Linked DNA regions of Homo sapiens: regions 1, 2, 3 and 4 are each linked to region 5. The links are contacts of gene promoters, found by promoter capture Hi-C in blood cells and fetal thymus (Javierre and others, 2016). All regions are on one chromosome and are shown on one strand. The core of a region is centred on a gene start or on the middle of the fragment in contact, and the rest is flanking DNA. Distances in the headings are between cores, read along the strand shown.

Evidence for each region. Contacts are between HindIII fragments. The CHiCAGO score rates a contact against its expected background, and 5 or more counts as called.
Region 1: a fragment that was not itself captured here is called in contact with the fragment with the promoter of P2RY1 in region 5 in 1 of 17 cell types (M2 macrophages); the score reaches 5.1 in M2 macrophages.
Region 2: a contact is called between a fragment that was not itself captured here and the fragment with the promoter of P2RY1 in region 5, in 1 of 17 cell types (megakaryocytes). The highest score is 6.1, in megakaryocytes.
Region 3: a fragment that was not itself captured here is called in contact with the fragment with the promoter of P2RY1 in region 5 in 1 of 17 cell types (megakaryocytes); the score reaches 5.6 in megakaryocytes.
Region 4: a fragment that was not itself captured here is called in contact with the fragment with the promoter of P2RY1 in region 5 in 1 of 17 cell types (megakaryocytes); the score reaches 6.0 in megakaryocytes.

What each region holds. Positions count from the first base shown.
Region 1 is chr3:152,695,253-152,701,130 of GRCh38, reverse strand. No RefSeq gene overlaps it. Among named protein-coding and RNA genes, the nearest start is that of P2RY1, 140 kb to the left of the region's middle. The HindIII fragment of the contact is 7,542 bases long and covers 1-5,756 here.
Region 2 is chr3:152,617,452-152,622,762 of GRCh38, reverse strand. No RefSeq gene overlaps it. Among named protein-coding and RNA genes, the nearest start is that of P2RY1, 220 kb to the left of the region's middle. The HindIII fragment of the contact is 203 bases long and covers 2,202-2,404 here.
Region 3 is chr3:152,636,105-152,641,973 of GRCh38, reverse strand. No RefSeq gene overlaps it. Among named protein-coding and RNA genes, the nearest start is that of P2RY1, 200 kb to the left of the region's middle. The HindIII fragment of the contact is 1,888 bases long and covers 3,123-5,010 here.
Region 4 is chr3:152,655,130-152,661,107 of GRCh38, reverse strand. All of the region lies in intron 2 of LOC102724289 (a long non-coding RNA gene), which reads right to left. Among named protein-coding and RNA genes, the nearest start is that of P2RY1, 180 kb to the left of the region's middle. The HindIII fragment of the contact is 1,299 bases long and covers 927-2,225 here.
Region 5 is chr3:152,832,559-152,838,025 of GRCh38, reverse strand. It overlaps P2RY1 (purinergic receptor P2Y1), which reads right to left and starts at 2,895. Exons shown (of 1, transcript NM_002563.5): 1 at 1-2,895. The coding sequence starts at 2,243. The coding sequence ends at 1,122. RefSeq lists silencers at 1,932-2,226, 2,939-2,988 and an enhancer at 2,659-2,758. The HindIII fragment of the contact is 2,977 bases long and covers 1,222-4,198 here.

The sequences.
Region 1 (5,878 bases), core at 736-3,235, 140 kb after region 5:
TGCAGAAATTTGCATAAATAGCAAGGATCCTAATGTTAATTCCAAAGACCATGGGGAAAATATCTCCAGGCCATGTCAGGGACCTTCACAGCAGCCCCTCCCATCACAGGCCTGGAGAAGCAGGAGGAAAAAGTGGTTTCATGGGCTGGACCCAAGGTCCCGTACTGTGTGCAGCCTAGGGACGTGGTGCCCTGTGTCCCAGCTGCTGCAGCCATGGTTGAAAGGGGCCAATGTACAGCTCAGGCTGTGGCTTCAGAGGGTGGAAGCCCCAAGCCTTGGCAGCTTCCACATGGTGTTGAGCCTGCAGGTGCACAGAAGTCACGAATTGAGGTTTGGGAACCTCCACCTATATTTCAGAAGATGTATGGAAATGGCCTGATGCCCAGAAAAAAGTTTGCTGCAGGGGCGGGGCCCTCATGGAGAACTTCTGCCAGGGCAGTGAGGAAGGGAAATGTGGGGTCATAGCCCCCACACAGAGTCCCTACTGGGGCACTGCCTAGTGGAGCTGTGAGAGGAGGGCCACCATCCTCCAGACCCCAGAATGCTAGATCCACTGACAGCTTGCACCGTGCACCTGGAAAAGCCACAGGCACTCAATACCAGCCCATGAAAGCAGCTGGGAGGGAGGCCGTACTCTGCAAAGCCACAGGTGTGGAGCTGCCCAAGACTATAGGAACTCATCTCTTGCATCAGCATGACCTGGATGTGAGACATGGAGTCAAAGGAATTTTAAAATTTGACTGCTGCACTGGATTTTGGACTTGCATGGGCTGTGTAACCCTTTTGTTTTGGCTAGTTTCTCCCATTTGGAAAGCCTGTATTTACCCAATACCTGTACCCTCATTGTATCTCGGAAGTAACTAGCTTGCTTTTGATTTTACAGGCTCATAGGCGGAAGGGACTTGCCTTGTCTCAGATGAGACTTTGGACTGTAGACTTTTGGGTTAATGCTGAAATGAGACTTTTGGGGACTGTTGGGAAGGCATGATTGGTTTTGAAATGTGAGGACATGAGATTTGGAGGGGACAGTGGCAGAATGATATGATATGGTTTGGTGGTGTTCCCGCCCAAATCTCAACTTGAATTGTATCTCCCAGAATTCTCGTGTGTCGTAGGAGGGACCCAGGAGGAGGTAATGGAATCATGGGGTCCGGTATTTCCTGAGCTATTCTCATGATATTGAATAAGTTTCATGAGACTTGATGGGTTTATCAGGCGTTTCCGCTTTTGCTTCTTCCTAATTTTCTCTTGCTGCCACCATGTAAGAAGTGTCTTTCACCTCCCACCATGATTCTGAGGCCTCCTCAGCCATGTGGAACTATTAATCCAATTAAACTTCTTTTTCTTCCCAATCTCGGGTATGTTTTATCAGCAGTGTGAAAATGGACGAATACACCATCCATTCTGCAGCTTATGGATCAAGGAGTAATTTGGGCTTTCGAGTTTTATTATTTTAAGAAATATGTTTTTTAAGGCTATAGCTGCCATAGATAGGAATTCCTCTGATGGATATGGGCAAAGTAAACTGAAAACCTTCTGGAAAGAATTCACCATTCTACATGTCATTAAGAACATTCATGATTCATGAGAGGAGGTCAAAATATCAACATTAACAGGAGCTTGAATGAAATTGATTCCAACCTTCATGGGTGACTTTGAGAGGTTCAATACTTCAGTGGAGGAAGTAACTGCAAAGGTGAAAATAAAAAGAGAACTACATTAGAAGTGAAGTCTAATGATGTGACTAGATGGCTAAATTTGAATGGATAAAGAGTTGCTTCTCGTGGATGAGCAAAGAAAGTGGTTTCTTGAGATGGAATCTGCTCCTGGTGAAGATGCTGTGAACATTGTTGAAATTACAACAAATGATTTAGAATATTCCATAAACTTAGATGAAAAAGTAGCAGTAGGGTTTAAGAGGATTGACTCCAATTTTGAAAGAAGTTCTACTGTGGGTAAAAGGCTATCAAACAGCATCACAAGCTACAGAGAAATTTTTCATATACTAAAGAGTGAATCAATGTGGCAAATATCACTGTTGTCTTATTTTAAGAAATTGCCAGTCACCTCAATCTTCAAGAACCACCACCCTGATTAATCAGCAGCTATCAGCATTGAAGAAAGACCCTTTACAACTTGCTAAAGGCTTAGCTGATGATTAGCATTTTTAGCAATAAAGTGTTTTTAATTAAGATACATAGATTTTTAAAGACATAATGCTATTGAACACTTAATAGACTATAGTATAGTGTAAACATAACTTTTATAGTTACTGAGAAACTAAAAAATTCATTTGACCCACTTTATTGTGATAATCACTTTATTGTGGTAGTCTGGAACTGAAACTGCAGTATCTCTGAGGTATGCCTGTAAACACATGTAGTTTTCTTTGCACCTTGAATTCTGTGCTTTTTGTTATAGGACTACTTTCCCAGTGTCAAAAGATTTGTAAAATCTATCCATCAAAGTTGATAAAAGTGATGAGAAATAAAAGCATCATCTCTGGGATAATAGAGTGGTATCATCTCTGGGATAATAATAGTGAACACAGATTAGGATCTTACAAAAGGCCAATGTTATGGTCAAGATGTGTGTTTGAATTTAAAAGTAACCTGAAACAGAGAAAAAATATTGGATCTCCTCTTTCTCATCCTAAAATCCAAGCTCTAAGGAGATTCCAAGTTTATGATTGTTGTATTCATCAGGGTTCTCCAGAGGGACAGAACTAATGGAATATATATATATATATGAGTTTATGAAGTATTAACTCACACAATCACAAGGTCCCACAGTAGGCCATCTGCAGGCTGAAGAGCAAGGAGAGCCAGGCCAAGTTCCAAAACTGAAGAACTTGGAGTCTGATGTTCAAGGGCAGGAAGCACTCAGCATGGGAGAAAGATGTAGGCTGGGAGGCTAGGTCAGTCTCTTTTTCATATTTTTCTGCCTGTTTTATATTCTAGTCACACTGCAGCTGATTAGATTGTGCCTACCCACATTAAGGGTGGGTCTGCCTTTCCCAGCCCACTGACTCAACTGTTAATCTCCTTTAGCAACACCCTCACAGACACACCCAGGATGAATACTTTGTATCCTTCAATCCAATCAAGTTGACACTCAGTATTAACTATCACAAGTTTCATATTGCTCTTGGGATAAGAAGAAGGTGGTCATTGTTTGCTCGTGTGTGCTCAACAGGGACCATGCAGGAGCTGGAACATATTAAGAACAGTAGACCTAAGTATAAGTTTATTTAATACTTGCCTTGTTCTTGACTGAAAGAACATCTCTGAATTTTCACCCTTTCCCTCTTAACCTACAGTCATTTCCACTATACCTCTTAATCCTGCTTAATTTCTACATAACGCTTATCACCTCTCACGTATTATATATTTATTTGGTTACTCGTTACAATCTGTGTCCTCCCACTAAAATAAAATTTCCATGGGACTTAGAACTTGTCTGTTTTAATCATTACACTATAGTAATCCCCTCTAATACTGCCTATAGCACAATGGTCACCAAATAAATATTTGTGATAGAATTAACAAATGGGAACTGAGCAACTCTAGATTTCAGTTAAAACACAAGAGGCCTCATATCCTCTCCTAAACTCTGTATGAGGAAATCTGGAATGCAGCTTCTCCTTACCACCACTCCCATTCCTGGCTACCTCAGTGTACTCCAATATTTTTCCCAACTCCCAAAGTTTTTTGAAAATTAGTATTTAAATGATAATACACAAACATGAGTATAAAGCATAACTGAGTTTATTAAATTACAAAACACTTCTGTTTTTACTGTTATTCTAAAACTATACATTGAGTTTTTACTGTTATTCTAAAAGTATATATTTTAAACAAACACACTGGAACTTATTCACACTTACTATATAGGGTGAGGTTCCTTTTGAGTTGCTGAGGCACCTAATGACTGTTACTTGCAGAAGAGGTATGCTTAGTTCTCTCTTACATAAAAGTCTGAAGTTATGCAGGCTAGGACTTGCATAGGGCTGGATCCCATGAATGTTTCAAGCATATGAATTCTATCTCTTGCTGCTCTACTATTTATGTGACCTCCAATCTCAAGATCATCTCATGGGCCAAAGTAACTGTTTCAGTCCAACTATTTTGTCACATTTCAGCCTGTAGGAAAAAGATGTGGACAAAGAAGAAAGGGCAAAAAATGCATGGATGTTTGTCTAGTAATGAAAATTCAAGGTTGCCACATGACACTTTTGCTTATATCCCATTGACCAAAACCAAGTGACATGATTTCATCTTGTTTGGAAGGAGGCAAGGAAATGTAGCCTTTCTTCCATGCAGTCATGTATCCAGCTAAAAATCAGGGATTCTACTACCATGTATGAAAAGAAAATGGATATAGGGGACAAGTAGCAGTTTTTATCAAAGCATCCATCTGAATGTCTTCCCATACAAAATGGTCATCCCAGGAGGCTAAGTTCCAATAATGCTGTCATTGCCATAGTTTTCAACTTCCATTGGCACCTACAATACATTTTTATACATATCCTTAGAAGTGTCAAATATTCAGTCTTAAGGAGTAAATTTGATTTTTTGAAGCATCAAAAATTATCTTAGAGAGAATTTCCTGTGTAAGATATGCAACAAAATTAGTGATGTCATTTGAGGGCAGAAGGTTGGATATGGCTTCAAACTTATGTTTCTCTAAAAACAATTTCCTGAGAGGGTCTTACACATGTTTCCCAAGACTGGCATCACCATTTACTCTCCTCCCAACACCATCATCAATGTCATCATTAGTAGTAGCACTTAACAAAGACTGAAAACTTATGAGGAGGGTGATTTTCATATGTGACACTTTCTACTCAAAATATAGTACTCAAATAAATGCGTTTAGTGCCCCTCAACTTGTAACTTCCAGACTTACATCCATTTGTCTGTATAATATGCTCTAACAACAGATGGTATATCATTAAAAATCTTTATTACACTTGATGCTCTTCTAGGATGGAGAGAAATCTATTTCCAAAATTTACATAAAGATGCTGTAAAATTAGGGACTTACATTTAAAAAGCTACTTGGGATTGATTTAAAATGACATGTAATATTGTGCTTTCACCAGTTAGCTGGATAATATCACCCTCTGGAGGCAAAATGCTAATTATTTATGCATTTCATTATAAGGCAGCTCAAAACATTAAATTTCATTCCTGGAGAAATGTTAAACTGGGAAAAATAACAAGTATTGCTTACATTTAAAATCGTTTTTTAGAATTTCATTTTTAATTCCTTTTTCTTTTGAATCTTTATCAGTTGTTCCAAATCAGGAAAGATCTTAGCTAGATCTTCTGGATAACTTGCTGCAGCTTCTATATTATCACCTGCTTTCATCTTGTACTTTGATGGTATGGAGACAACATCTGCTTAAACCTCATGATCCAACCTTTGCTAGCCTCCAACTTTTCTCCTGCAGTTTTCTCACCTCTCTCAGCTTTCATAGAATTGAATAGAGTTAAGGCCTTGTTCTGGATTAGAGTTTGGCTTAAGGGAATGTTGTGGCTTGTTTGATCTTCTATCCAGGCCAACAAAACTTTCTTTATATCAGCAATAGGGCTGTTTTGCTTTCCTATCATTCCTGTGTTCACTGGAGTGGTGCTTTTAATTTTCTCCAAGAACTCTTTTTTTCTTTTAATTCATATCTCAGCTAACTGTTCATCACAAGAGACTTAGCTTTTGGCCGATCTTAACTTTCAACATGTCTTTCTCACTAAGCTTATTCATTTATTTCTAGCTTTTCATTAAAGTGAGAGATGTGTGATTCTTCCTTTCACTTGAACACTTAGAGTCCATTGTAAGGTTATTTAATATTTGTTTAAAGTAATATAATTTACTTTTT
Region 2 (5,311 bases), core at 1,054-3,553, 210 kb after region 5:
CTGAGAAAAGGAGGTTGTGTGCATGAGTTTCCAAGCACTGGAGATATAATAGCCAAGACCAAGGAGGGGCGTGGTTTAATGGGATCTGAGATCCCTCCCAACCCTGAGATTCCACAGCTGTCTATTTCATCATGGGATGGGCACCATATACAGAATATGTGTTCATTTACTATTCATAGAAATCATGGGAAAAACTCAGAGAGCTGAGTTTCTTTGATTCCTACTAGAACTACAACTTCATGTGCTGGTTTTCCAGCCCTGACTCTGTCTTGACTTGCAGTATGGGGATTTGGGGTGAGGGATTTAATGCTTCAGTGCGTGTTATGCATTTGTAAATGAAAAGGTGGGACCATAGTGTCACAATGAGTAGAACAGTGAGATCTGGTTTCCAGTCTTGGCTTTGTCACAAATTGGATTAGCAAATCTCTGAGGTTCTTCCTGCTTTAATATTCTTTGAATAAGAACGCAGCTCAGAGTAACTGATTAAAAGCAACCAGTGAATATGATGGCACTTGGACTTATGAAGTACAAAGCTACTATTTTTTAGTCAATCATTCTCTTATAGTAATAAAACAAGAGATGTCATTGTCTTTCCTGTCTGGTCCCAGGAAATAGTTTAAGTGTCAGTAGGCAAGCAGGAAAAAAATGTTATTTCCAGATTAATAGCATCTGTTAAGGTTAACTGTCAACTTGCTCTTACTAGCAGGAGATGTTTTCAAACATTCAGTCACTCAGCAACTATTTATTGAACGTCTACAAATTTTCAAACACTGGGATGCCAGGTGCTGGGGATAAAATGGTAGGTCACAGACAAGGAAACACACATTCCTTTACTTGAGAAGTTCTCTTTCTAGTGGAAAAGACAAATGTATAGTAGGCAGTAATAATAAGTTGGCCTACTGCAGCATAAACTAAGATTCAGGACTAAATAGAGGACAAGTGCTTGGAAAATGTACATGACTTGTTCTGGGCACTCAAAAAAAAAAAGCTGGATGCTGAGTTCTTCTTCTCTCAGTTGCTAGACATAAGGCTCAGCACAGTGAGTCACCAGGGCTTAAAATTCAATGGCAATAATACCTCCATTCGTGCGGTGCAGAGAGAGCAGTTAGCCGTCACAACTTGTTACAGAAACAGATCAATGCTTGATGAGGTTAATCCACTTCGAACATGATAAGGCACGAAGAGGTTGACACACAGCACTTCCCTCAGCTCCATTTAAATTCAGCCTAGCACCCCACAGCCAGCCAATGTATGTGCTGTTTGAACAAGACATATTTCTGCTCATGGTTAATATCAGCTTTAGAGTTTAGTTTGGAGAATCAGATCAGCAGGCATCAGTTTTCTGCTTTCCCTTTCTCCTGTCTTCTGTCCCAGATCACTCTTCCAGACAATAAATGGTCTCTGTTCTTTTTGCAAGTAGGTTAAGGAGTTTTAGACAAACATTGAAAGCCTCCCTTATTTGAAGATTTCAGCTTGGTACTGATGCTTTCGGTCTGTTGGAGAGCACTTGGATAGTGAATTACCTCATTGTTTTCAGATGGGAGCAATTCAGTGAGACGTGTGGGTGTCTAACTGAAAGACGACAGTTCTTCAGAACCAGCCTGGTGGTGATGCTGGTCCCAAGAAACAGGGTTGGTTTGTAATCTAATTCAAAAAGGCTGTTACAAATGCAAAAACAAAGCAGGCATTTCACATGTGCAAAAGACCACTTGCAAAAAGCCTCCATGGAATTCACATTAATTTAGATTTGATAGTTTTTTGATTTGGACACCAGCATTCTAAGCTATTTATCTAAAATACAAAAGTTAGGTACTAGAAGACTATTTAAAAACTGTTTCCTACACTGTTTTTATCATAACATAGTCTAAGCAGCTCTGAACTGTCTGTATTGAAGAATGCATTTATTTATTGTATTTATACCAACTTTGTTTCAATAATTATTTTCAGTGGCCAGGCTATCAGTATGATCTGTACGTTAATTACAAACTCAAAGCGGGCTTGGTTTCTACTTGGGGAGCCTATCTTACTGAAAATTTTATTCCTTTTGCTGAAAATGACAATGATATGAAAGCTCCAGGCAGTGCCAGAAAGACTGCTATTCAGTTCACAAAAGAGCAGGACTTAACTAGACATCTCAGTTGGAGCAACACTAGCAGCAGCCAGCTCCAACTCAGGCTGGCAAATACTCTTGGCACAAAGCTTAAGCAACAACAGTGCAGTAGGTGCCACAGCAGTGCCCTCGCAGGTCTGCTGACTGCTCAGGCAGGAAAGCAGAAAAGAAAGACAAACCCAGTATTTACTCAGATTTTTCTTGGCTATCCTCAAAAATATGGTCTCTACTGCTGCACTCTCAATCATGAGCCTTATTGAAGATATCTTTAAAATGATATCTTTTATAAAAGCTTGGATTCTTTTATCCAGGGGAGGCATTTCAATCCATGTGAAGAAATGTAAATTCCAGACAGGCCTTTTTGAATAAGTAGATACACTCAGAGTGCATTTGCCCACCTTCTTCTACCCTAGATCCATTCCTTCACTTTGTTTCAATCCTAAGGTCTTCTGGCCCTAGAAAGTCACTGAAATTTTTCTCATCAAATTTGTGAATGACCACTTTCAAAAGTTATGTTACTTGGCTTTTCAGCAACATTGACCAATTTTGACCACTTCTTCCTTCTTGAAATGCTGTCTTCCCTTGTCCTCTCTGATACTTCTACCTGTTTCGGCCTTTCCTTCTCAAAGTTTCATTTCCTTTGCCTTTTCTTCAACACCATGTTTCCTTGGGTCCTGATTTGCATCCTCTTCTAGTTTTATGTTGTCTTCCTAGGCTGTCACATCTGTTCTCAGTGCTTTAGCTGCCAAGTATATCGGGTGATTTCAACAAGCACTTCCAATTCCAATGAACTCTAGTCCTATTTAGTCAATTGTCTCCTAACCACATACAGGCCCAACAGACTCCTCGAACTGAATATATGCAAAAGGGAGCTCTTCCTCTCTTGCATATCTGCAACCTGCTTCCCTTCTTTGTTGTCCCATATGCCCTCAACTGGCACAGCATCTACCAGAAGGACAAATGGGGAGTCACCACTGACTCTTCCCTTTGATCACTCCCATACTTAATCCATCAGCAGGTCTTGTTGAATTTACTTTCTTAATAGCTCCTGAATCTGTCCATCTTCTTTTCATCCTTTGCTGCCAGCTGTCAACCTAAATTTTTGACCTCACATACCCACTTGGGGCCTACAACAATATTATACATTTTCCAACCAGGCTGGTTGTTTTAATAAGTATCTAACTTAAAACCAGTAAATGCCTTCCCATTGCCCTCAGAATAAATTCCAAGGTTGTAAATATACCCCTTAAGTTTCAGAGTTGGCTTTTCTCCAGCATCATTTTGGGCCACAACTATTTGCTAGTTGTGATGAGGCTCCATTGGCTTCTCTTAAAGTATGGCCATCCCCATCTCAAGGCATCTCACATGCTGTTCTCTGTTTGGCATAGAGAGATTTACTCTTACATGTCCTTCCAATTTCAAACTCAATCTCCATTCCCTTGCCAAATGCTCTGTCAGCCCCATATATTTCCCCTATCATAACAGTCATCAATTTTTATTTTCATAGCTTTTTTGACAACTGTTTTTTGCCAATACACTGTAAACTCCATAAGGACAGGGTCTAATTTGTCATTATTTCCCCCAAGTAACTGGGGACATGGACCCTTAATGAATATTTTTGAGGGCACAGAATAATGGATTTTATATGCATTTTTGTGTAATGATAAGTATAAACTATAAGCATTTTTAAATGCTTTACAGAACTTTTAGTTATGAGATAAATGTGTCTTCACATTTATTCATAGGATGAAATACTGGCATTTGTGTGCTGGTTGATATTTGAAGGAGATAATAATGAAGTAATATTTCTATCATTCCCTTAATATAGAAGGCATCTATTCTCTGTAAACCTCTTCTTTATTTTTGGCAGAAAACTAAACACAAATGAGTTGTGGAAAAATGCAATTGGGAAATTTTTGTCCATTTTTTTCCCTTTCCCCAGATTATTTATGTAGCTCTGCCTCTCTCCTCTACCAGCTGGAGATGATAAGAAGATACTGATGTAAAAACCAAGGCCTAGAGCTACAGCAGAGGCCAGAGAGGACAAAAGGACAATAGGCAGAGTATTCCGTCCCTCTGCCCTACTCCTGTGAATCTTCTCTCCTCACCCAAGTGTCAACCCAAGGAAAAGAAAGGGCAGGCCCTTGTGAGGAAGACAGCTCTTCCTGGGAGCTTGAACTTTAACTGATTGTTGGAATCCTGTATTACTGAACAATTACCTGAAAGGCACTGCTGTCAACAAAGGTTGGGTTACCCACAAGTGTGAATTGGTTGTCATTACACAGCAGACATAAAGACTTGTGAATTAGGTTCCATTTTTTGGAAAATCAAAGAACATTAAATTTCTGTTCATCAGAGCCATAGTGCAAAGGTTTAAATCTAATGTGGAGTGAAGTCCAATCCTTAGTCTTCCTCAATATAATATTTAGGAGACTGCCTGACATTTGAATATAACAGCTAGGTCTCATCCACCTAATTGACTCAAGAAAGAAAAGTTTCAGTTTCAGATGTGAAATATTACCCTTTCCAAACTATAATTTTACTTAAAATATGAATAAGAACTATCTAGGGTCACAAAGAAGCCCAGTCCAACACTCATAAGAAAAGGACCAAATCTTTTCTCTTACTCTTGATATGAGGCAACTTTGTCTCCTCCATCTCTCCTCTTTTCAACACCACTGAAATCTTCTCTCTTTACCTCCTGTCTCTCACAGCCTCTATTTTTACCTATCTCACATTTAAAAAAATGAATACAAATTTAAAATGATAAAAAAAATGAGTTTCAGTTTTTTGAAACTCTTCTAACCTGAAGTGTTTCTTCTATCTTTAAAAATGTTGACTAGGCATATAAATCAAGAGTTGATAAAGAAAAGGATTAAGATAAAATATGAATGATTATATATAAAATATAATGAGTGATAATTTTCTCCTTGCCTCTATAGAGCTGACTGATATAATTTTCTCTTGTCAGTTTTTAATATAAACTTAATTAGATCTATTGGTAATAAAATAATTGCAAAATTTTGACAAATATTTATCTGGAAAACTAAAATAATAGAAACCAAAGCTCCTGTAACGGGTACTCTTGATTAAAATTTCTCAGTAAGGTGGCTGGGGGCAGTGGCTCACGCCTGTAATCCCAGCGCTTTGGGAGGCTGAGGTGGGCAGATCACGAGGTCAGGAGATCGAGACCATCCTGGC
Region 3 (5,869 bases), core at 2,817-5,316, 200 kb after region 5:
TCCTAGTACTTTAGAATGTGATTGTATTTGGAGATAGGGTCACAATTCAACCCATAACACCCTTTAAGCTTCTGCTTCTTTATTCATAAAAATGTGTGAATTGATTTGAGTATCACTAAAGACTGTTCAAGGTCTAAAGGGTTAGTATTATTTTGAAAAGATGATCATTATCTTTTCTACAAATAAATATTGTGATTTTTCAATGTTCTTGACTGCAAGCATCAGAAAATGACCCTGGATAACCTAAAGAAAATTTCTTGATTAACTGTGGGAGTCCTGAGTTTAAGAGTAGGCTAGAGGGTGAGGGAGGTCTCACACATGGGCTGTCCAGTGGGAGGCTGACACCAACTGCCACTAACACCACATACTATGTGAGGGTACAGGCATTGCAGGAGACTCCTAAAAGGACAGGGAGGGGTCACAGAAAGATGCAGTGAATAGTCTAGAGCATCCCACTTCTATAAAATGACAGATAACCACCAGGAACATATTACGGTATTTTATAACATTAAGCTAAATGTGTTTAGAAGAGCTGAAAAAAATATTAAGCAAACAATCTCCAGATAGATAGATAGAAATGATAGATAGATAGATAGATAGATAGATAGATAGATAGATAGATAGATAGAGATATAGATAGAGATATCTGATAGACCCCTAAAGTGTCTCCTGATTTTTTTAATGGCTCCTCACAATTATATTTTGATAACAAATTTTTAAATAAAATTCAAATTAGAGGTAGAAGTAAAAATTACTACATTGAAAAACTGCACTAGCTTTTTTTCACTCAGAAATCTCTTTAGACTTTAATGATCTTGTCTGTAAAATGGGAACAAAGCTACTTAAATTGTTAAAAGCAAGACAGATGAATTTTGGGCTTACACCTTTATGATTTACAAGCTCTATGATTAAGTATTGAAGATGTGATAGATTTTTTTTCCCTTTATCCTCCATCAGTGCCCTATTGTTTATCTTTCATTATTTTTCTTGGAAAGGTTAAATTGATGTTTTAAAAATCAATTTCCATAACTTCAATTTTCTTATAGATATTTCCTTGTAATCAATTCTGCTATACATTTTTTTCCAACAGAGCTCTTAGAAATTACTGTTTACGTTATACTAAGATGCTAGTAATCACATTGAATTATCTCCTTATTTCTCAATTGCTTTACATCTTATCTTTTCCTCAGCTCTGCTCTGAAATATATTTTTTGTTGTTGTTGTTTGTAATTTTAACATATGTTACTATTTTTGGCCCAAATACTAGATACATAACAAAATCACTATTCAAAACTTCTCTTTAGATGTAAAGCTTTATTTTGGACATCTTAAGAATTTCAAGTTTTTGTTGAACTCAGTGTTATAACTTTCAGATTTCATGTTTAAATATTTTGAAAACTATACTGATTCATATTTTTGCTCGTTTTTAGTTGAATAAACTCTCTCTTTTTTGTTTTTGTTTTTGAGACAGGGTCTTACTCCGCCACTCAGCCTGCAGTGCAGAGGCGCAAAAACAGCTCACTGCAGCCTTGAACTACGGGGTTCAAGGGATCCTCCTGCCTCAGCATCCCATGTAGCTGAGACCACAGGAGTGCACCGCGGTTGGCTGATTTTTTTATTTTTTTGTAGAAACGGTATCCCATTTTTTTTTGCGCAGATTGGTCTCAAACTCCTGGGCTCAAACGATCCTCCTGCCTCAGCTTCTTAGAGTGTTGAGATTACAGGTATGAGACACTGCACTCAGCTTAAATAAACTAGCTCTAAAACCCTGATTGTTATGTATGTGGCTGTTTCTTTACATTCTCACTAGGAATTAATATCCAAAAACTCTCATTCATTCAACAAATATGAGTAACTACTATGTGTCAATTATTGTTCTTGACATATAGTAGATGTTCACTAATATTTCTTCATAGTCATGTTAATTGCAGTTTTTGTTTGGCTTATTTTTTTGTTACTGAAAATTTGTGGTGAAAACAAAAGGTATTTTGCTCTACTATTTTTATTTCCTGAAAAATAGTAATGGATACTCTTTCTCATCCATTTACTTCTTGCAAATAAACATCAGGGCATAGGAAATTCTTTGAAATTAGAAGAGATCATTAAATTACTTCTTTGGAAGGTATCTCAGTTTTGGAAGTTTCCAAACTGTTAAATGTATTCTTTTTCAGGTAATATCATACATATTTAAAATACCCAAAATTGCTATTTTTCTAGTACAAAGGTATTATATATTATATATCCAAATTTTTAACTTTTTAAAATTTCAACATCACTAAATAAGAACAATGAGCCAGCTTTAATAAACATAAGTAGAAAATTAGAGCAACATTATGAGTGACATTTACAATCATGTCAATCTCAACATCTCATTTACTTTTGTAATTGCTAAGATTACACACTTTCACAAAGATACATAGTTGTTGTGTATCTTTAATGTAATCTAGAAGCTGGAAAGAGGAGGTAGTTGGACACTTTTATTTCAAAGTTAAATCACTGACAACATCTACCATCTGCTCACATTCCCCTTCACAAAAATAAAATTCAGCCAAGAAGCTTCCAAAACCTTCAGATGAAACCCGTAAAAGATATTATCACAATTCTTCATCCTACCCACTCACTTACTATTGCACAACTACTGTTAGGCAGTGATGAACACGTGTACAGAATACCGGCATCTGAGCCCTAACATTTAATTGGACTTGGCGCATGTGTGCGGTGACAGTGTACTCAGACGTTTTTATGTGAAAGAACAAGCACAGACCTGAATTTTAAAAAGAAACAGAAAACAAGTCTTTCTAAACTGTGCACATTTGCAAGGAGCTCAAATATGTACTAATAGATAATAGGTCTTTTTTCCAAGAACTTCCCTCAAGCAAGTTAACCCAGAAGAACTATTTAATGGGCTAAGTGGTTTTCAAAAACACAGTCTGAAATGCCCCATTTCTCTGCAACTACTTCCCTTCATGGGTGAGACACTAAGACCAGTGGAAGTCAAACAAAACACACAGTTTCTTCTCCATCCTTCGTGCTGTTTCCTTAACTGGGATTTCATACCCCTTCAATCCTACCTGGCAGGATATTACTCATTTTTAATAACCTTTCTCAGATACCAGGAAGCTTTGTTTTTCCTCAGACGCATATTCTTTCTCTCCCTGTCTCCCCATCCCCAACATTTGAAATGCACTTAACATATTTTCATATTTCATCCTTTATCAGAAGAGAGGAATCTCCTGCTCTCACTTTATTGTAATTCTTACTACACTGTACAGCAGGCCATATACGTTATAGGCACTAATTAAACAATAATTTCATTGAATTGTTTACCACAAAGATCTATAATCCTCAATAGATCATTTACATTAAAATGGCTTATATTTTGCCGAATTTAATGAAAGTGTTTTTCTGTAATCCTTTTCACATTCTTAGAATTTTGTGTATTTCTTCCAAGGCTTCTATATAGCAATATTTTTTCAGCTGCCTTAGTTCCTTTTAATCCAATTCCCTTAGAAACATTGTTGTTTAAGTTGGCAATTTTTGTAGTAAAAGAGAAGGCGCTACCAGAAAGCTAGAAACGCGTCAACAGTGTGGGATTTGCCTGTGGGCTTTGACTGAGGAGCTGATGAAAAATTAAACAACAGACATGCAATTTTTAGCCCAACTGCACTAAATAAATCTTTTTTTGTGTTTGCTAGTATCTTCATGCTGAATTGTATATGACTGTGTTTTTCAGAATTTCCTCAAACACAAGATAGTGTATGTCTAAATCTGTGTCATTTTATCTTTTGTCAAAGGCCTAGTTGTCTAGAAGCAAAGACTGAGACAAAGTCTGGTAAAGATAGGGGCTTACTATTATTATTAGGAGTTGACATCTTTGGAAGTGAAGGTCAGGAAGCAGGATGGCAGAGAGAGAACTCCCCATAGAGAATGCAGGAATGCATATAGCCCATCAGACACGACTCACATTGGGCTGAGATGGCTGGGCCTCTATACCTCTGCCTTAATCAGGTACTCTGCCTGAAAAAAAAAGTGAGTGCTAGGGAATGTGGCTCTCTGCAGATGGGTCAAACCCTACCAAAGTTGACAACTGGAGGCTGTCTGCTGGGGCAGAAAGTTCCTTCTTTAGGGGCGATCTGGGTAGCACAACTTCATGTCCATCACACCTCTGAATGGAAACCCCCTCCGCAAAATGGGGACAGAGACTACTTTTAAATTTTTTTGAGATCGAAAAACAGAGACAAATAGCTAATTGCCATTAAGGGTTCTGTAGTCAGGTAGGCTTTCAGTTAAGAAGCCTCATGACTCCCTTGGCAGATATTGGAGAGTTTATTTTTCTATAATCTGAGTATTGTGATTTCACAGCATTGATTATGTTCTGGCTTCATGGTTCCACACAGTGAATCCTGGCACAACATGACATTAGTTACACTGAAATTCCCAAACTCCAAATACCAAGCAGCATCAGATTTTCTTAAGATTTCATTTTCTCAGATAAGTGGAACTGGCTAATTAACAGACCCCAAGAGGATTTAATTTCTCTGAGCATATCCACCATTTTTAGAACCTGGGGATTCAAATCACTTTTCTTTGAAATGTGGCAGTTATGACAATGTGATATGAATGATGAAAAATTAAGATTATAGACTGCTTTGAAGGAATTAGAAATCAATCTGGTTTGTAATGAGTCAATCTCTACTAGCAGAGGATCTGTTTCCTGAGACCTACTATGCAACTGTGCTTAGTGTCAGATGCCAAAGCCCAAATAAGGAAATGCCATCATATTGTAATAATTCAAATATGGTAATAATTCTAAAATATTAACTGGTAGCTGGAAAATCCGGTTTCAAAGGTCTGCTTTAACATTGTGTTCATGACATTGAACAATTTCTATCTTTGGCCTTAATCTATGTTTACATTTTAAAATCTTAAGGACAAATCCTTTACAAAGAAGTTGTTTGTCGGGGTGGGGGATGTTTAACTCTTACAAAAATGATTTCGTTAATCAAAGCTTTTGGTTCTTCTTTTGTACTTCTCTGTAAAATATTACTTTGAGAATTCTCAATGAGATAGTGGCTGGATTGAGAACAAGTGATTAAAGACATCTCTGGAATGGTCAGCGAGGTGATGCAGCAAGAAAGTGCCCAAAGGCTTGATGATAATCTTCGGTGTCTTGACTGCATAGCCCTTCTTTTGAAAGGAAACTGGAATAAGTTATAGGTAAGTTGATGCCTGGTTATTTTTTCAGTCATAGACATTTTCTTATTCTGAACTCTATGTTGCTCTCCTATCAACAGAACTTTTTTTGTATTCTAAACAGCACATCTTTAAATATGTATTGAAAATATGTATCGCACATTCTCAAAGACTTAGATCTTAATAAGTAGTTTTCCAATTGGTTTCAGTAACTCATAGATCATTCTTAGTCTCTTATCAGTGTTTAATAATTTTTAAAATAAATACATTTATGAATGAATAATCATGGGTCCTGGTTATCATGGGATCTGCGATAAAGTTATAGACCTAAAACTATTTTCACTGAAACACAGCACGGTCTTCAAAGAAATGGAAACTCATTCTCCATTCTGATTCATGGGATAATGCTCTGATGATTACTGTTGCTTCATCCACAGTGTTCTTCAACTTGAAAATGTGAAAACACTAGTTTATTTTTTTTAATATGAAAAGGTATTTCAAAGAATAATAGTCAGAGTTTCTAAGTTAAAATATTTCACTTACTACTGCTATTATTTCATCCATGTACATCTAATAAAGCTATTGTCAAAATGACAGCCTTACATGCTCACTTAAAATAATTCATATTCCCTGAAAAAAACAACTTTACAGCATTGTTTGTAGCATAATGGTGGCC
Region 4 (5,978 bases), core at 327-2,826, 180 kb after region 5:
AAAAGCAAGGACATATCCAGTTCTTACTCAGACTATAGCTGAACAGTCAAACTGGAACATACATAGACTAGCCAGCAAGAGGAGGTGATATGTTGACCAGGTAAAAGACACCATGCTATACAACGGATGACAATGGAAACAGTAAATTAGAAAGGTATTTAGAGACACTGGAGTTTAAGGAAATTGATCTTAATCTATTTAAACATTATGAATACTAAGGAATTAATTCATAATTCTCACCTTAATATGAAGTGGAATAGGGTTGCATTCCTTGACCAACAGTAATAAATGTGTTTTAATGATCCACAGAGCATTCGAATAAGATGTCTCATTTGGAATATATTATCAATTTCCTTTATAAGGCTTTATAATTAAATCTACTATCATTAAAAAGTTGCGCTATTATTTGCTTGAATGTTACTAATAACCTACTTGTTGCCAAATCTGTATGTCTTTTATTCTTTGAAAAGTAAGAAAAGGTTATTCCTGAGTAGGAAAAGGTAACTTAAGGAATATGAGACAAATGTCTGTCAACTGAGAAAGCTGTTGAATTTTGAGGCATAACAATGAAAGCTCTATTTATAGATATTAAGCTCTAGAATTTCACATTTTGAAGGAACATTAACAACTTTTTTACAGCTGACGGGCTTGGAGAGATTATTTAAAGGTTAGAACCCAATCTGGTTAATTACCTATGACATGACTTCATATATTCAAGACTTTATGACTCCGTGTTAGTCAAGGGTTATAATATATATGTTTCATCCCTTTAATAATATCAGAAGACTTTCAGGAAAAGCACTTTTTTTCTTTTTCTGAGTCCTCAGCATCCAAAAGAGTGTTTGGCTCAAAAAGCATTTGTTGAGTAGCATATCTTAAGAGGTATTCACTTGAATTGTTATTCATTTTAGCTATTTATAAAAGCTTAATCCGTTGTTTCTTTGGAACTGAAACTTGTATATCACAAATTTTCACTGTTGTTTGCTTTTACATTTATCAGCTTTTGTTATCTCTTATCTCACCATCTGATACCTATTTGTTGATGCTATCTGTTGATATCTTTTTACATTTTAGAGATAAGAAAGAATTCTAAAACTAAATAATTTAAAATAGTTTTAAAAAATATATAGGTTGCACAGGAAGAAAAGTGATTATCTTTGGAAGAATCTCCAAACAAATTATCTAGTCAAAGGAAAACAAAAAATAGTAATTAAAAAATTTAATTCAATTCAACTAGCACTGATTGAACATTTCTTATGTTTCATGCATTGAAGATGTAACAGCAATAAGACATAGGTCTTACTTCAAGGAACTCATATATCAGTAGAAGATATGTACTGTATAATAATGTGATCAGTCAATGGTATTTTAAAGCAGTAATAATACTTCATACATATAAATATGAAGTATTTTATAAGTATTAACACACTTAATGCTAACAACAATTTTGTAAATGAGAAAATTGAGGCATAAAGAGAGGTTAAATAATCTGCTCCATTTATGTAACTAGTTTTTGGCAGAGCTAGTATTTGAACCAGGCAGTCTGTAGATTCAGAGCCTGCATTCTCATGCCACACCGTACTGCCTCAGAACTCACCGCAACTTCTCAGTTTTTGTTTTTTTTTTAATTTTGTTCATGAGATGATTTATTTCTTTTTACACATATATCACCAAAATTAGAAAGTAAGATTTGCAGGTTATTTTACATCAGGACAGTAAATCCATTTTTGACTTCTGAGAGATTTTTCATGCAGAAGTTTGAAGATTGTAAATGCCTTTACAAATATATAACATTATTAAAACATTTTTATTTTATGAATATGAAATATTTTAGAAGTAACGAGACAGCCAAATATAAAGGAGTCACTGGAGAACCCCCAACTGGCCTGTGTGCTGGGAGGAATGCACACTGGGGTGGAGCCTCAGGAAGTTCACTCTGTTTGCCCTGGGGAGGAGCCTGGCCCCTCTTCTTCCTGGGTGGAACCTGGAATTCAATCTGTGACGCGGGAAGCATATACTAGCAGGACTCTCACTCTGCTGAGGGTCCCTCTTTCCCCTTTTTTCCTTTTTTCCAATAAATTCCATTTTTCTCACCCTTCAAAGTGTCTGCAGGCCTAATACTACATAGCTGTATGGCAAGGACCCCATCTTTAGCTGAACTAGGGAGAAAGTCCTACCACAGTACAAACATCTGATATAACATACACGTGCATTTCTGAAAAGCTTGCATTAAGCTACATTGCACACTTCAAGTTACAAAGTTAATGGGGGAAAAAATAGAATTAGCATAGACCACTCAAAACTTAATGCACTTGATGACCAGAGCATTAACAACAATAACAAATCCTACTCAATAACAATTTATCACAGTTTTTAAAAAATGTTAAAATCATAATAAAGAAAGCAATACTACAGTAACTAATATGACTTTATTCCAAATACAAATGAAAGTAGGCTATCAGAATGAGGTAAAAGAAAGACTGCTGAATTACAGAAAAAAGCACAACACCATCAGAAGTTACAGGTGTAGCATTTTATGTAATAAGTAGATGCAAGTTTCACACATACCACAGCAAAGATATGGCTGGTGATTTTGGATCATTATCTTGTCATTGTTTCTTTTGCACATGATCAACCTCCTGGGAAGATAGGATGAATGGACATGGTGTACAGTACTGTATTCTTCTAAGGTTTGCTGTATGCAGCTTTGTTAGCATATTTTGCACTCTGCTGCAGTGTAAATGCTGGCAGTGCAAAATGCAGGGGGAAAATCCCTTAGGAGCCTTCTCATCACCCAAGTTATGTTCACATCATTCCCTCTTTAACAATCTTATTTCCATTTACATTACAGAACATGCTCTGTAGCAAAATAAACTATATTTGGAATGGATTACAGTGAAGGAGAACATCAACAATTTTATCACTAGATTATTTCTTATTTCAGGTTCCTTTCTCCTTTTCTGTCAAACACACTTAAAAGCTAAACATGCAAAATGCTTTTCTAGGTTAAGTTCAATTATAGTTAGTAGTATAGGTGTCACTGCATAGAAACTACTGCTTTCCAGACAGAGGCAGAAGGATCGCTTGAGCCCAGGCCTTCGAGACCAGTCTGGGCAACATGGCAAGACTGTGTCTTTACAAAAAAAAATTTTTTTAATTAGCCAGGCATGAGGTGGGAGGATTGCTTGAACCAGGGAAGTTGAGGCTGCAGTGAGCCCTGATCATACCACTACACTCCAGCCTGGGTGACAGAGCAAGGCCATGTCTCAAAAAACTAAAATAAAATAAAAATAAAGAAACTATTGCTCGCATTTCCAAGCAACAAGTATCCAAGAGGTCATTCACACATGTTCCTTTGCAATTTCAGCATGAGTGCAAATATTTTTCTTCTTTCATCTCTATCAACATTAATACAAAATTTAAAATAAAATGGGATAACTATTATAGCCCTCATTCGCAACAGCCATAATTTAGGACTGAGGGATTAACTAAAGTTCGGTATCACTTAAAAGAGCAAAACAAAAATAGAAAACAGCAGTTTTCCTAGTCATAATAAAAAAAGTTTTTGTCCAATTTACAAAAAGTTCCTGCTAATTAAAACCTACTAACACAGTCACAGTTCATATACTATCAAAGTTGTTATTTGAGTAGTCAATTAACTATCCCCAAAGCACCACAACCAGATAAAACAATTTATTTTCTTGTAGTGTTGTCCTAATTTGGTCTTAACGAGGAGTTGAGCTTGTCTTGTATGTTTGTTCCTTGAGTTGCTGAAGGCTTGATTTACTTGTCCCAGTAAAAGTCTCTGCTTGTTCCCCTCCTTCTCTGAACAAAGACTGATTTTCATATGAAAAGAGTTAGTGAATGTTTTCCCTTAGGCACTGGGGCTAGCTTTTCCCAGAGAAGTAGGCTGTTGCATTGCTTTTGTCATCTTTGATCACAGAAAAGTTTTCAAAGGGCAGCATAAACAATGATAGTCAAGTTGGTCTCTGCTTTCATGAAGAAGGTGATGGAAGTGAATTTTAAACAATTTTAGCAACAAATGTTTGCTGGCACATGAATCTGGATTTACAGTAATTAGAGATATCTGAATTTTCACAAAATAGTCTAGGCATACTTTTTCTTTGGTCTACCAAGACTTGACACTCATTGTTGCTTTGGTTTTCCCTGGTACAGCTGATAACATCAAACACTTAAAATTAGCACTGCAGAATGCAGCTCCAAGCAGCAGCTTCCGGTCGAGTGATTTTATCAATGGTTACAAGAGTAACAGAACTCCAGAGCCGGGATTCTGTCTTGGCTTGTAAAATATCTTTCAGTTCTACCTTTAATATGTTTTTAAGTAGAAAGTAACTTAGTATCATTATGTTACTAAATCCCAGAATCTTTTTTGGAAGGGAGCAAAGGATTTTGAAACACTGAAGATACGGTGACAAAATGGAGACGTGCAAAATTATATTCTTCTATTGACATTCACTGTAACTCTTCAGTGGTACATATATATTAATAACAAATTTCAGGCATTCTAAACAACTGTTGAGGATCTGTTTGTGAACATTTTCCATGTGAGAGAATTCTTTACTCCCCCTAATAAAGCCCTATCTCATGATTTATGCATCAGTTCTCACAGCCTGGCTGCACAAAAGTTTAATTCCAGAGTGCAGGGAAGCTGAAATGAGGAAGTTGAAGAGACTGAGAGCTTTCTTGGGAGTGCCTAGCTACTTCTTCCCTGAAGATCCGTACCCGGAAGCCTGGAGAAACATAGCTGATCCAGGAGAAAATGTGAACCTGCATCCTACGGCTCTAAATTCATTTCCAGACCCCCGCCCTCCAAACTCTGTTCCCAGCAAGTGACCTGACATTTTGCATCAGGCCGAAGAGCAGACAGTTGCTAGGGGGCTGGCTATGGGGCAGCCATAAAGAAAATAAGCTAAAAAATAAATAAATAAACTTTGAGAATTCTTCTTTAAAATATAGCATTCTAGAACACTTTAGGTTTTCTCAAAAAAATGATTTACAAGTTAATGTTCAAATACATTAATCCAGAACTTTCAATTACAAGACGAGTAAGTCCTGGGGATCTAACATACAGCATGGTGAATATAGTTACTAATACCGTATTGTTTACTTGAAATTTGCTGAGAATAGAACTTGTGTCCTCATTCCTTCCTTGCCATGCATACAAAATGTTAACTATGTGAGGTGATGAATGTGTTAATTAATCTGATAATTAACAGCAATTAGTTAATTGTAATTAATTGTAATTAGATACATTTCACAATGTATATGTATATCAAACCATCACATTGTATACCTTGAATTTATACGGTTTGTGTTAACTTACCTCAATAAAGCCAGAAAAAAAGTTAAAATTTTCCCCCAAATTAATTCAAGAATGAAGATATTTGATTATATAACACTTGCATGAAATAGGAGTACCAGAAAGCATGATAATGGGAAAAGGCAGCAAATGTGAAAACCACCTTTTCCTGATGTAGTTCTGACTTTGCTCAGGGCTCATCCCAGATGGTTACCTTGTGCATATGCTATATTCTAATTAAAACCCAAAGGAACATATTCAGAAAAAGAATGACTCATCTTAAAATTTTTCATTTAAATTTTATTCATTGAAATGTTTTCATTTAAATTTCATTTTAAAATTTTACTGAATTAAGATAGAATTTGAAATCCCTAAAATAATTAACTATTACTAAGTATGTAGAAGGCCCTTAAATTCCATCTAACTTCTTTTGGTTCTGATATGATTCCCTGCATTTGTTTCGTTTGCATTCCTTTCCCTTTGGATTTGAATGGGAAATTGATTATTAAAATTATATTGCTATATATTAAAATATTGAAATGAAAATTAAGATTTGAAAATAATATTTAAAAGAAGTTAACCTTTTTGCATTAGGCCAGTTTACGTTAGGCAAAATGCTAAGAAAATTAATCTGTACAATACCAAAGGCATTATTATA
Region 5 (5,467 bases), core at 1,646-4,145:
TTGGAGGAAGCAAGAGTCTTCTCCACCATGACTTTAATTTAAACTAAAGCCCTCATTCTAAAATGTCTTCTGCCCACCCCAGTTGCTTCATACATTTGAGAGTATACTTGGAGGCTATGCCTTGTGGATGACTGTCAACCTCTCCTTTTCTGAAATACTGTCCTCCTGTCCAATATCCTTCAACTTACTAACAGTTATTTGACTTTACTCAATCTTTGGTCTGTAATTTATTTGCAATTCTTAAAATTGTTTTTACAGATGTGAGTGAACACTTGTCCTGGAACACAAACAAAGTCCTAAGGCATTGCACAGCAGTGGGGCAAGTAAATGCTCTTTATCACAAGATGTCTAAGAGAGCTCATGGTGTTTACAAGGAAAATACATGCACTTTAATTATTTTGAATGCATTTTACCAGTACGATAATATATGCAGGCTTTCCCCATCAAACATTTAGCACCCAATATATAATGAGACCTTTTCCAGAAATAACTGGAAAACAATCACTTTTCAGGCTTTTAAATTCATTAGCTTTACTTGTCTATTCAATGCCCTAAAGAAACTCAGTCAACTATCATCTATGCTTATAAGACACTGAAAAAAACACCCCGCTCAGAGATCCATTGATCTGATGCCGGATGAACTGATGAGTTTAGTGTTTTGTTATATACCATGCTAGATATTTCTGAGAATATAGATTTTTTATTCCTACTGTGGATTTTAAAAAAACAATAAAGGCTAGATAAACCACAAACTCAAGTTGCAGGGGGCTAGTTTTCTTAGAGAAATTACTAATATCAAAAACAGCCCCAGTACTCATGTGCACACACACTTTAAACAGAAAAGCCTGCACATTTTAAAGGCAAAAGAGAAAGTAAATGTTTAACTAGGTAGTATTGTTTTATTATACATACTTCTAGTCAGAAGGAAGAGAGACTGTGAAAGCAAACCCAAACAAGCTAAGTGTGGATGTGGGCATTTCTACTTCTATTATTTTTTTAACTCACTATTTTCTTGGTTTGATTTTTTTCTAAACTAGAAAGTTAAAGAGGGGAAAAGTACTTGATTCTGTTAAGCATCCTACCATATTACAACAGAGAGGTGTTTGGAGATTCTTGTGCCTTCACAGGCTTGTATCTCCATTCTGCTTGAACTCAGGTAAAATATTGAGGGTCATGTCTTCACTCTTGGATTGCAAATTTGCCTCACTTCTTCTAGAAGCTTTCCTTGTGGCTCGGGAGAGTCTCCTTCTGAAAGTATCTCCCGCCAAGAAATAGAGAATGGGGTCCACACAACTGTTGAGACTTGCTAGACCTCTTGTCACCTGATACGTGGCATAAACCCTGTCATTGAAAGCACACATTGCTGGGGTCTGAAAATCAAGCCGGGCCCTCAAGTTCATCGTTTTCATCACATGGAAAGGGATGTAAGACACAGCAAAAACAGTCAGTACAATGATTACCAGGTAAATCGATTTTCTCCTCAGAGGAGAGTTGTCCAGATCTTTGTAAATCAAAGCTCTCACAATTAATCCGTAACAGCCCAGAATCAGCACCAAGGGGACACAGAACATGGCCACGGTCGTGCACATGCTGTAGATGAAATAACTTCGCAGGTACTCGTCTGAGGTGGTGTCGTAACAGGTGATGGTTTTGTTTTTGCGGACCCCGGTACCTGAGTAGAAGAGGATGGGGGAGATCGCCACCACCACAATGAGCCACACCAGCACGCTGATACAGATCGCATTCTTCTTTTTGAGCCGGCCCAGGGACTTGAGGGGGTACACCACACCGCTGTACCGGTGGGCACTGATGCATGTCAGAAACAAGATGCTGCCATAGAGGTTCACATGAAAGATGAACCTCTGCAGTTTACACATGGCATCCCCGAAGATCCAGTCTGTTTTATTGAAGTAGTAGAAGATCAGGGCTGGCAGAGTCAGCACGTACAAGAAGTCGGCCAGAGCCAAATTGAACATGTACACGGAGATGCCGCTCCAGGGCTTCATGTGGAAGACGAACATCCAGATGGCCACGCTGTTGCCCAGGAAGCCGATGATGAATACCAAGATGTAGACAGCCGGCAGGTAGTAAAACTGGAAGCCCGTCTTGGTCAAGGCGCATTTGAACGACGAGGAGACGGCGGCAGTGGAGGCGACCGTGCTGTTCCCCCAGGACGAACCCGGACCGGCCAGGAAGGCAGCGTCCGTCCCGTTGGGGACAGCCGGCCACAGCACCTCGGTCATTCTCTCCTCCTCGACTTAGGCGGCGGCTCCGAGGGGTAGGAGGCGGCGAGAGGGCAGCGGCGGCCAGGGGCGCAGCAAGCATCGGAAAAGCCAGCGAGCGGAAGGGAGCAGGCGAACTGGATCCCCGCGGGAGGGGGCGCGCAGGGGCTCGCCCACGCCAGCTCTGGCCCCGCGTTCGCCGCGGGCCATGAAATCCGCCCCGGGCCGCCACCGAACTGGGCTATCGGGCAAGCCAGCAACTTCTCCGTCCGCTGGCAACGCCGAGCTTACACAACAGGGCGCGCAGGGAACCGCCGCGGATAACTTTCCGACTGCGCTTTCCCGAGGGGCCGCGGGTCCGCGCTGCAGAGCGCGCCAGAGGCGCAGCGAGGTCAAGGGAAACTCGCTCTGCAGGGCTCTAGCTTGGGGAGGCTGCTCCCCAGCCTCCTTGGCTCAAAGATCAACTTAATTGGGGGCATCTTCCTCCTCCCTACCTTAGAAACGTGCAGCTCAGTTTCGGGGCGTCTAACCGCTTCCTCCGCCCACCCTGAGCTCAGCTCCTGGCAGCCATCGGAGCGCGCGTGGCCGCAGACTCGTGCGCTTCTGCAGCGCGTCCCGTTCGGCGTCCGCGTAGTTCAGGAACCCCTTCCCCAGGCCCAGCTCTGTCCGGAGTGCCGGGGTTAGGCGGGAGAGCGGAGCTCCCTAGAGGGTGGGCGGAGTTTGGGCACCGGGGCGAGTCCGCACTCCGCGGGGAGGCGAGGGGCGTGCCTCCGCCGAGCTCGCCCAGCAGCCAGCCCGCGTCCTCCAGGGCGCAGTGGGAAGCAGGAGGCGTCTTCTGGGGAGCAGGTCTCCGCCGAGGCCGAGTGTGTTCAGCCTCTGCCGGCACGCTGCTACCGGAGTCGGCGGCGAGGGAGAGGGGTGCGCTCCAAGGTGGCTGCTGGCAGGCGATTGGCCCGCGAGCGCTCCTTCCCTCTTCCGCCAGCTATCTCGGCAAAGTGAAGTTGCTGACACACAGGAAACCCTTCCGACCGCTTAGAGCCTTCTGCCTACAACCCCAGAGCCGACCAGTCCGTAGCAGGAGCCTCTAGGGCCCTCGAGAACCACGCCAGGTGTTTTCAAGCTCCAAGCAGCCAGGAGTCCCTAGCTGGGAACGCCTGTCATTGCAGAGCGTCTAGCTTTGCCGGGACCGGATTTCTGGCACATGCAGGAACCTGCTATTCCAAGAGGGCGCGAGCCTCCAAAGGAATGAGGGTTGGGAGAGGAGTGGAGAACTCTGTTTCGCCCTTCTTACCTTTTTTTTTCTTTTTTTTAAATTCTAGTACTGTTTTTTCTTAATTACCCAAATGCTAATAAACCCACGTCATTAATAACATCAACGTGAGAATTTCCAAAATAGTCTTGTGAAGATATTACTAGTCCATATTGCACATTGCTTCAGCTCAAATTTGTCGTCATAGATACTTAACACCTATCAGACAAGACAAGCTCCCCAAATCCTCCTGTTCAGTACATTTAAAGATCAGAAGCTACAATGAAAAAAAAAAATTCGAAATTTATCCCTTTGAAAGTAATTTGAATGCCAAATGCAATACATTTATATTGATAGACGTAAAAGACGGTTATAATTCCAAAGTGACTAAGGTATGGTTTTGGTAGGGGGTGGCGGGGGGAGGGGGGTATTTCCAATTCTATTTCTTTAAGTTAAAGTGATTAGTTACAATTACCTCTAGTATCTTAAAAATACAGACTTGGGACTTCCTTAATTACTACATTTACTGACAAACTCGTTTTCTTGCCTTGAATGTAAATTTTAAGCAATGCACTTCAAAAATGTATTTGAGCAAGTTTAATTGGAAACTAAATGAAATATTAGCTGTTCAGGAACATATATAAATGGACCCGCACAAGAATGGAATCTAGCACTTCTTGACAAGTTACTAGTTAATGTATTTTTACATGACACATTAACAAAAGCTTTTCTCTTAGAGGAAAAAAAATCCAAAAAGAAAATATCTGTAAAATATATAACATCAAGATTTCTTTCTGGTCCCAGATGCTACATGATAGTGTTCCCTTAAAAAATAAAGGAAAACCACGAGCTCCTGGCTTTGATACCACAAAGGAAAATATCCCCCACAAGATCCAGATGGTTCTTTAGAGGAACACATATAGGAAGGAGCATATCTTAGCACATGGTATGAATACACTGGGTTTTGAATTGTAGTCAATTGAACAGCATAAAAATTAATAATAAAACAAGAGTAAATAATTCAAGTAAACAGTGTGAATGAGGTTGTCTTGAAAAGTCTTACTTTTTGTGTTTCCTTCCAATCTCCTGATTATATGAGTCTATGATTCTGAGCCTTAACATGAAACATTTGTGTATTGTTTGATTAGTATGGTCCTAGGTGGGATGATTGTCTATTAAGAGAGAAAAGGAAGCAAAGAAAACCATTAAGGGTTCCAGGGGTACTCAATAGGTCTTAAGTCCTCACTCCTTTGCATTTTTTATTTGCAACCTAGGCAATATCTGACTTCACTCAGAAGTTTGTTGCAAATGCATTAACTCATAATGTGAGTGTTTTGAAATGTACACTTAGTCCAGATACCATTAAGTACTTGCAGAAAACTGACACCTTACTAGGAATTGGGGGATAGTTGTTTTAAGTGCACCACAGACTTTTTAAAAAATGATGTTAAAAAATAAATTTTGGGCTGGGCGCTGTGGCTCACGCCTGTAATCCCAACACTTTAGGAGGCCGAGGTGGGCAGATCACGAGGTCAGGAGATGGAGACCATCCTGGCTAACACGGTGAAACCCCCTCTGTACTAAAAATACAAAAAATTAGCCGGGTGTGGTGGCGGGCACCTGTAGTCCCAGCTACTCGGGAGGCTGAGGCAGAAGAATGGTGTGAACACAGAAGGCGGAGCTTGCAGTGAGCTGAGATCGAGCCACTGCACTCCAGCCTGGGCGACAGAGTGAGACTCCGTCTCAAAATAAATAAATAAATAAATAAATAAATAAACAAACTTTGTAAGCATTGCTTTTGCATTCAACATATTTAACTACACAGTTATGTTTCAGTTATGCTTTAAATCAAAATTTTGCCTTGTGGGAATAAGTTACATATATTCAGTAATTACTATAACTTTCTATTTGTAAAACATTCAACTATTATTAATGAAGAAAAAATCTAAGAATCATTATTCACATTTGAACATCAATTATAGATGGCTTAAAGACA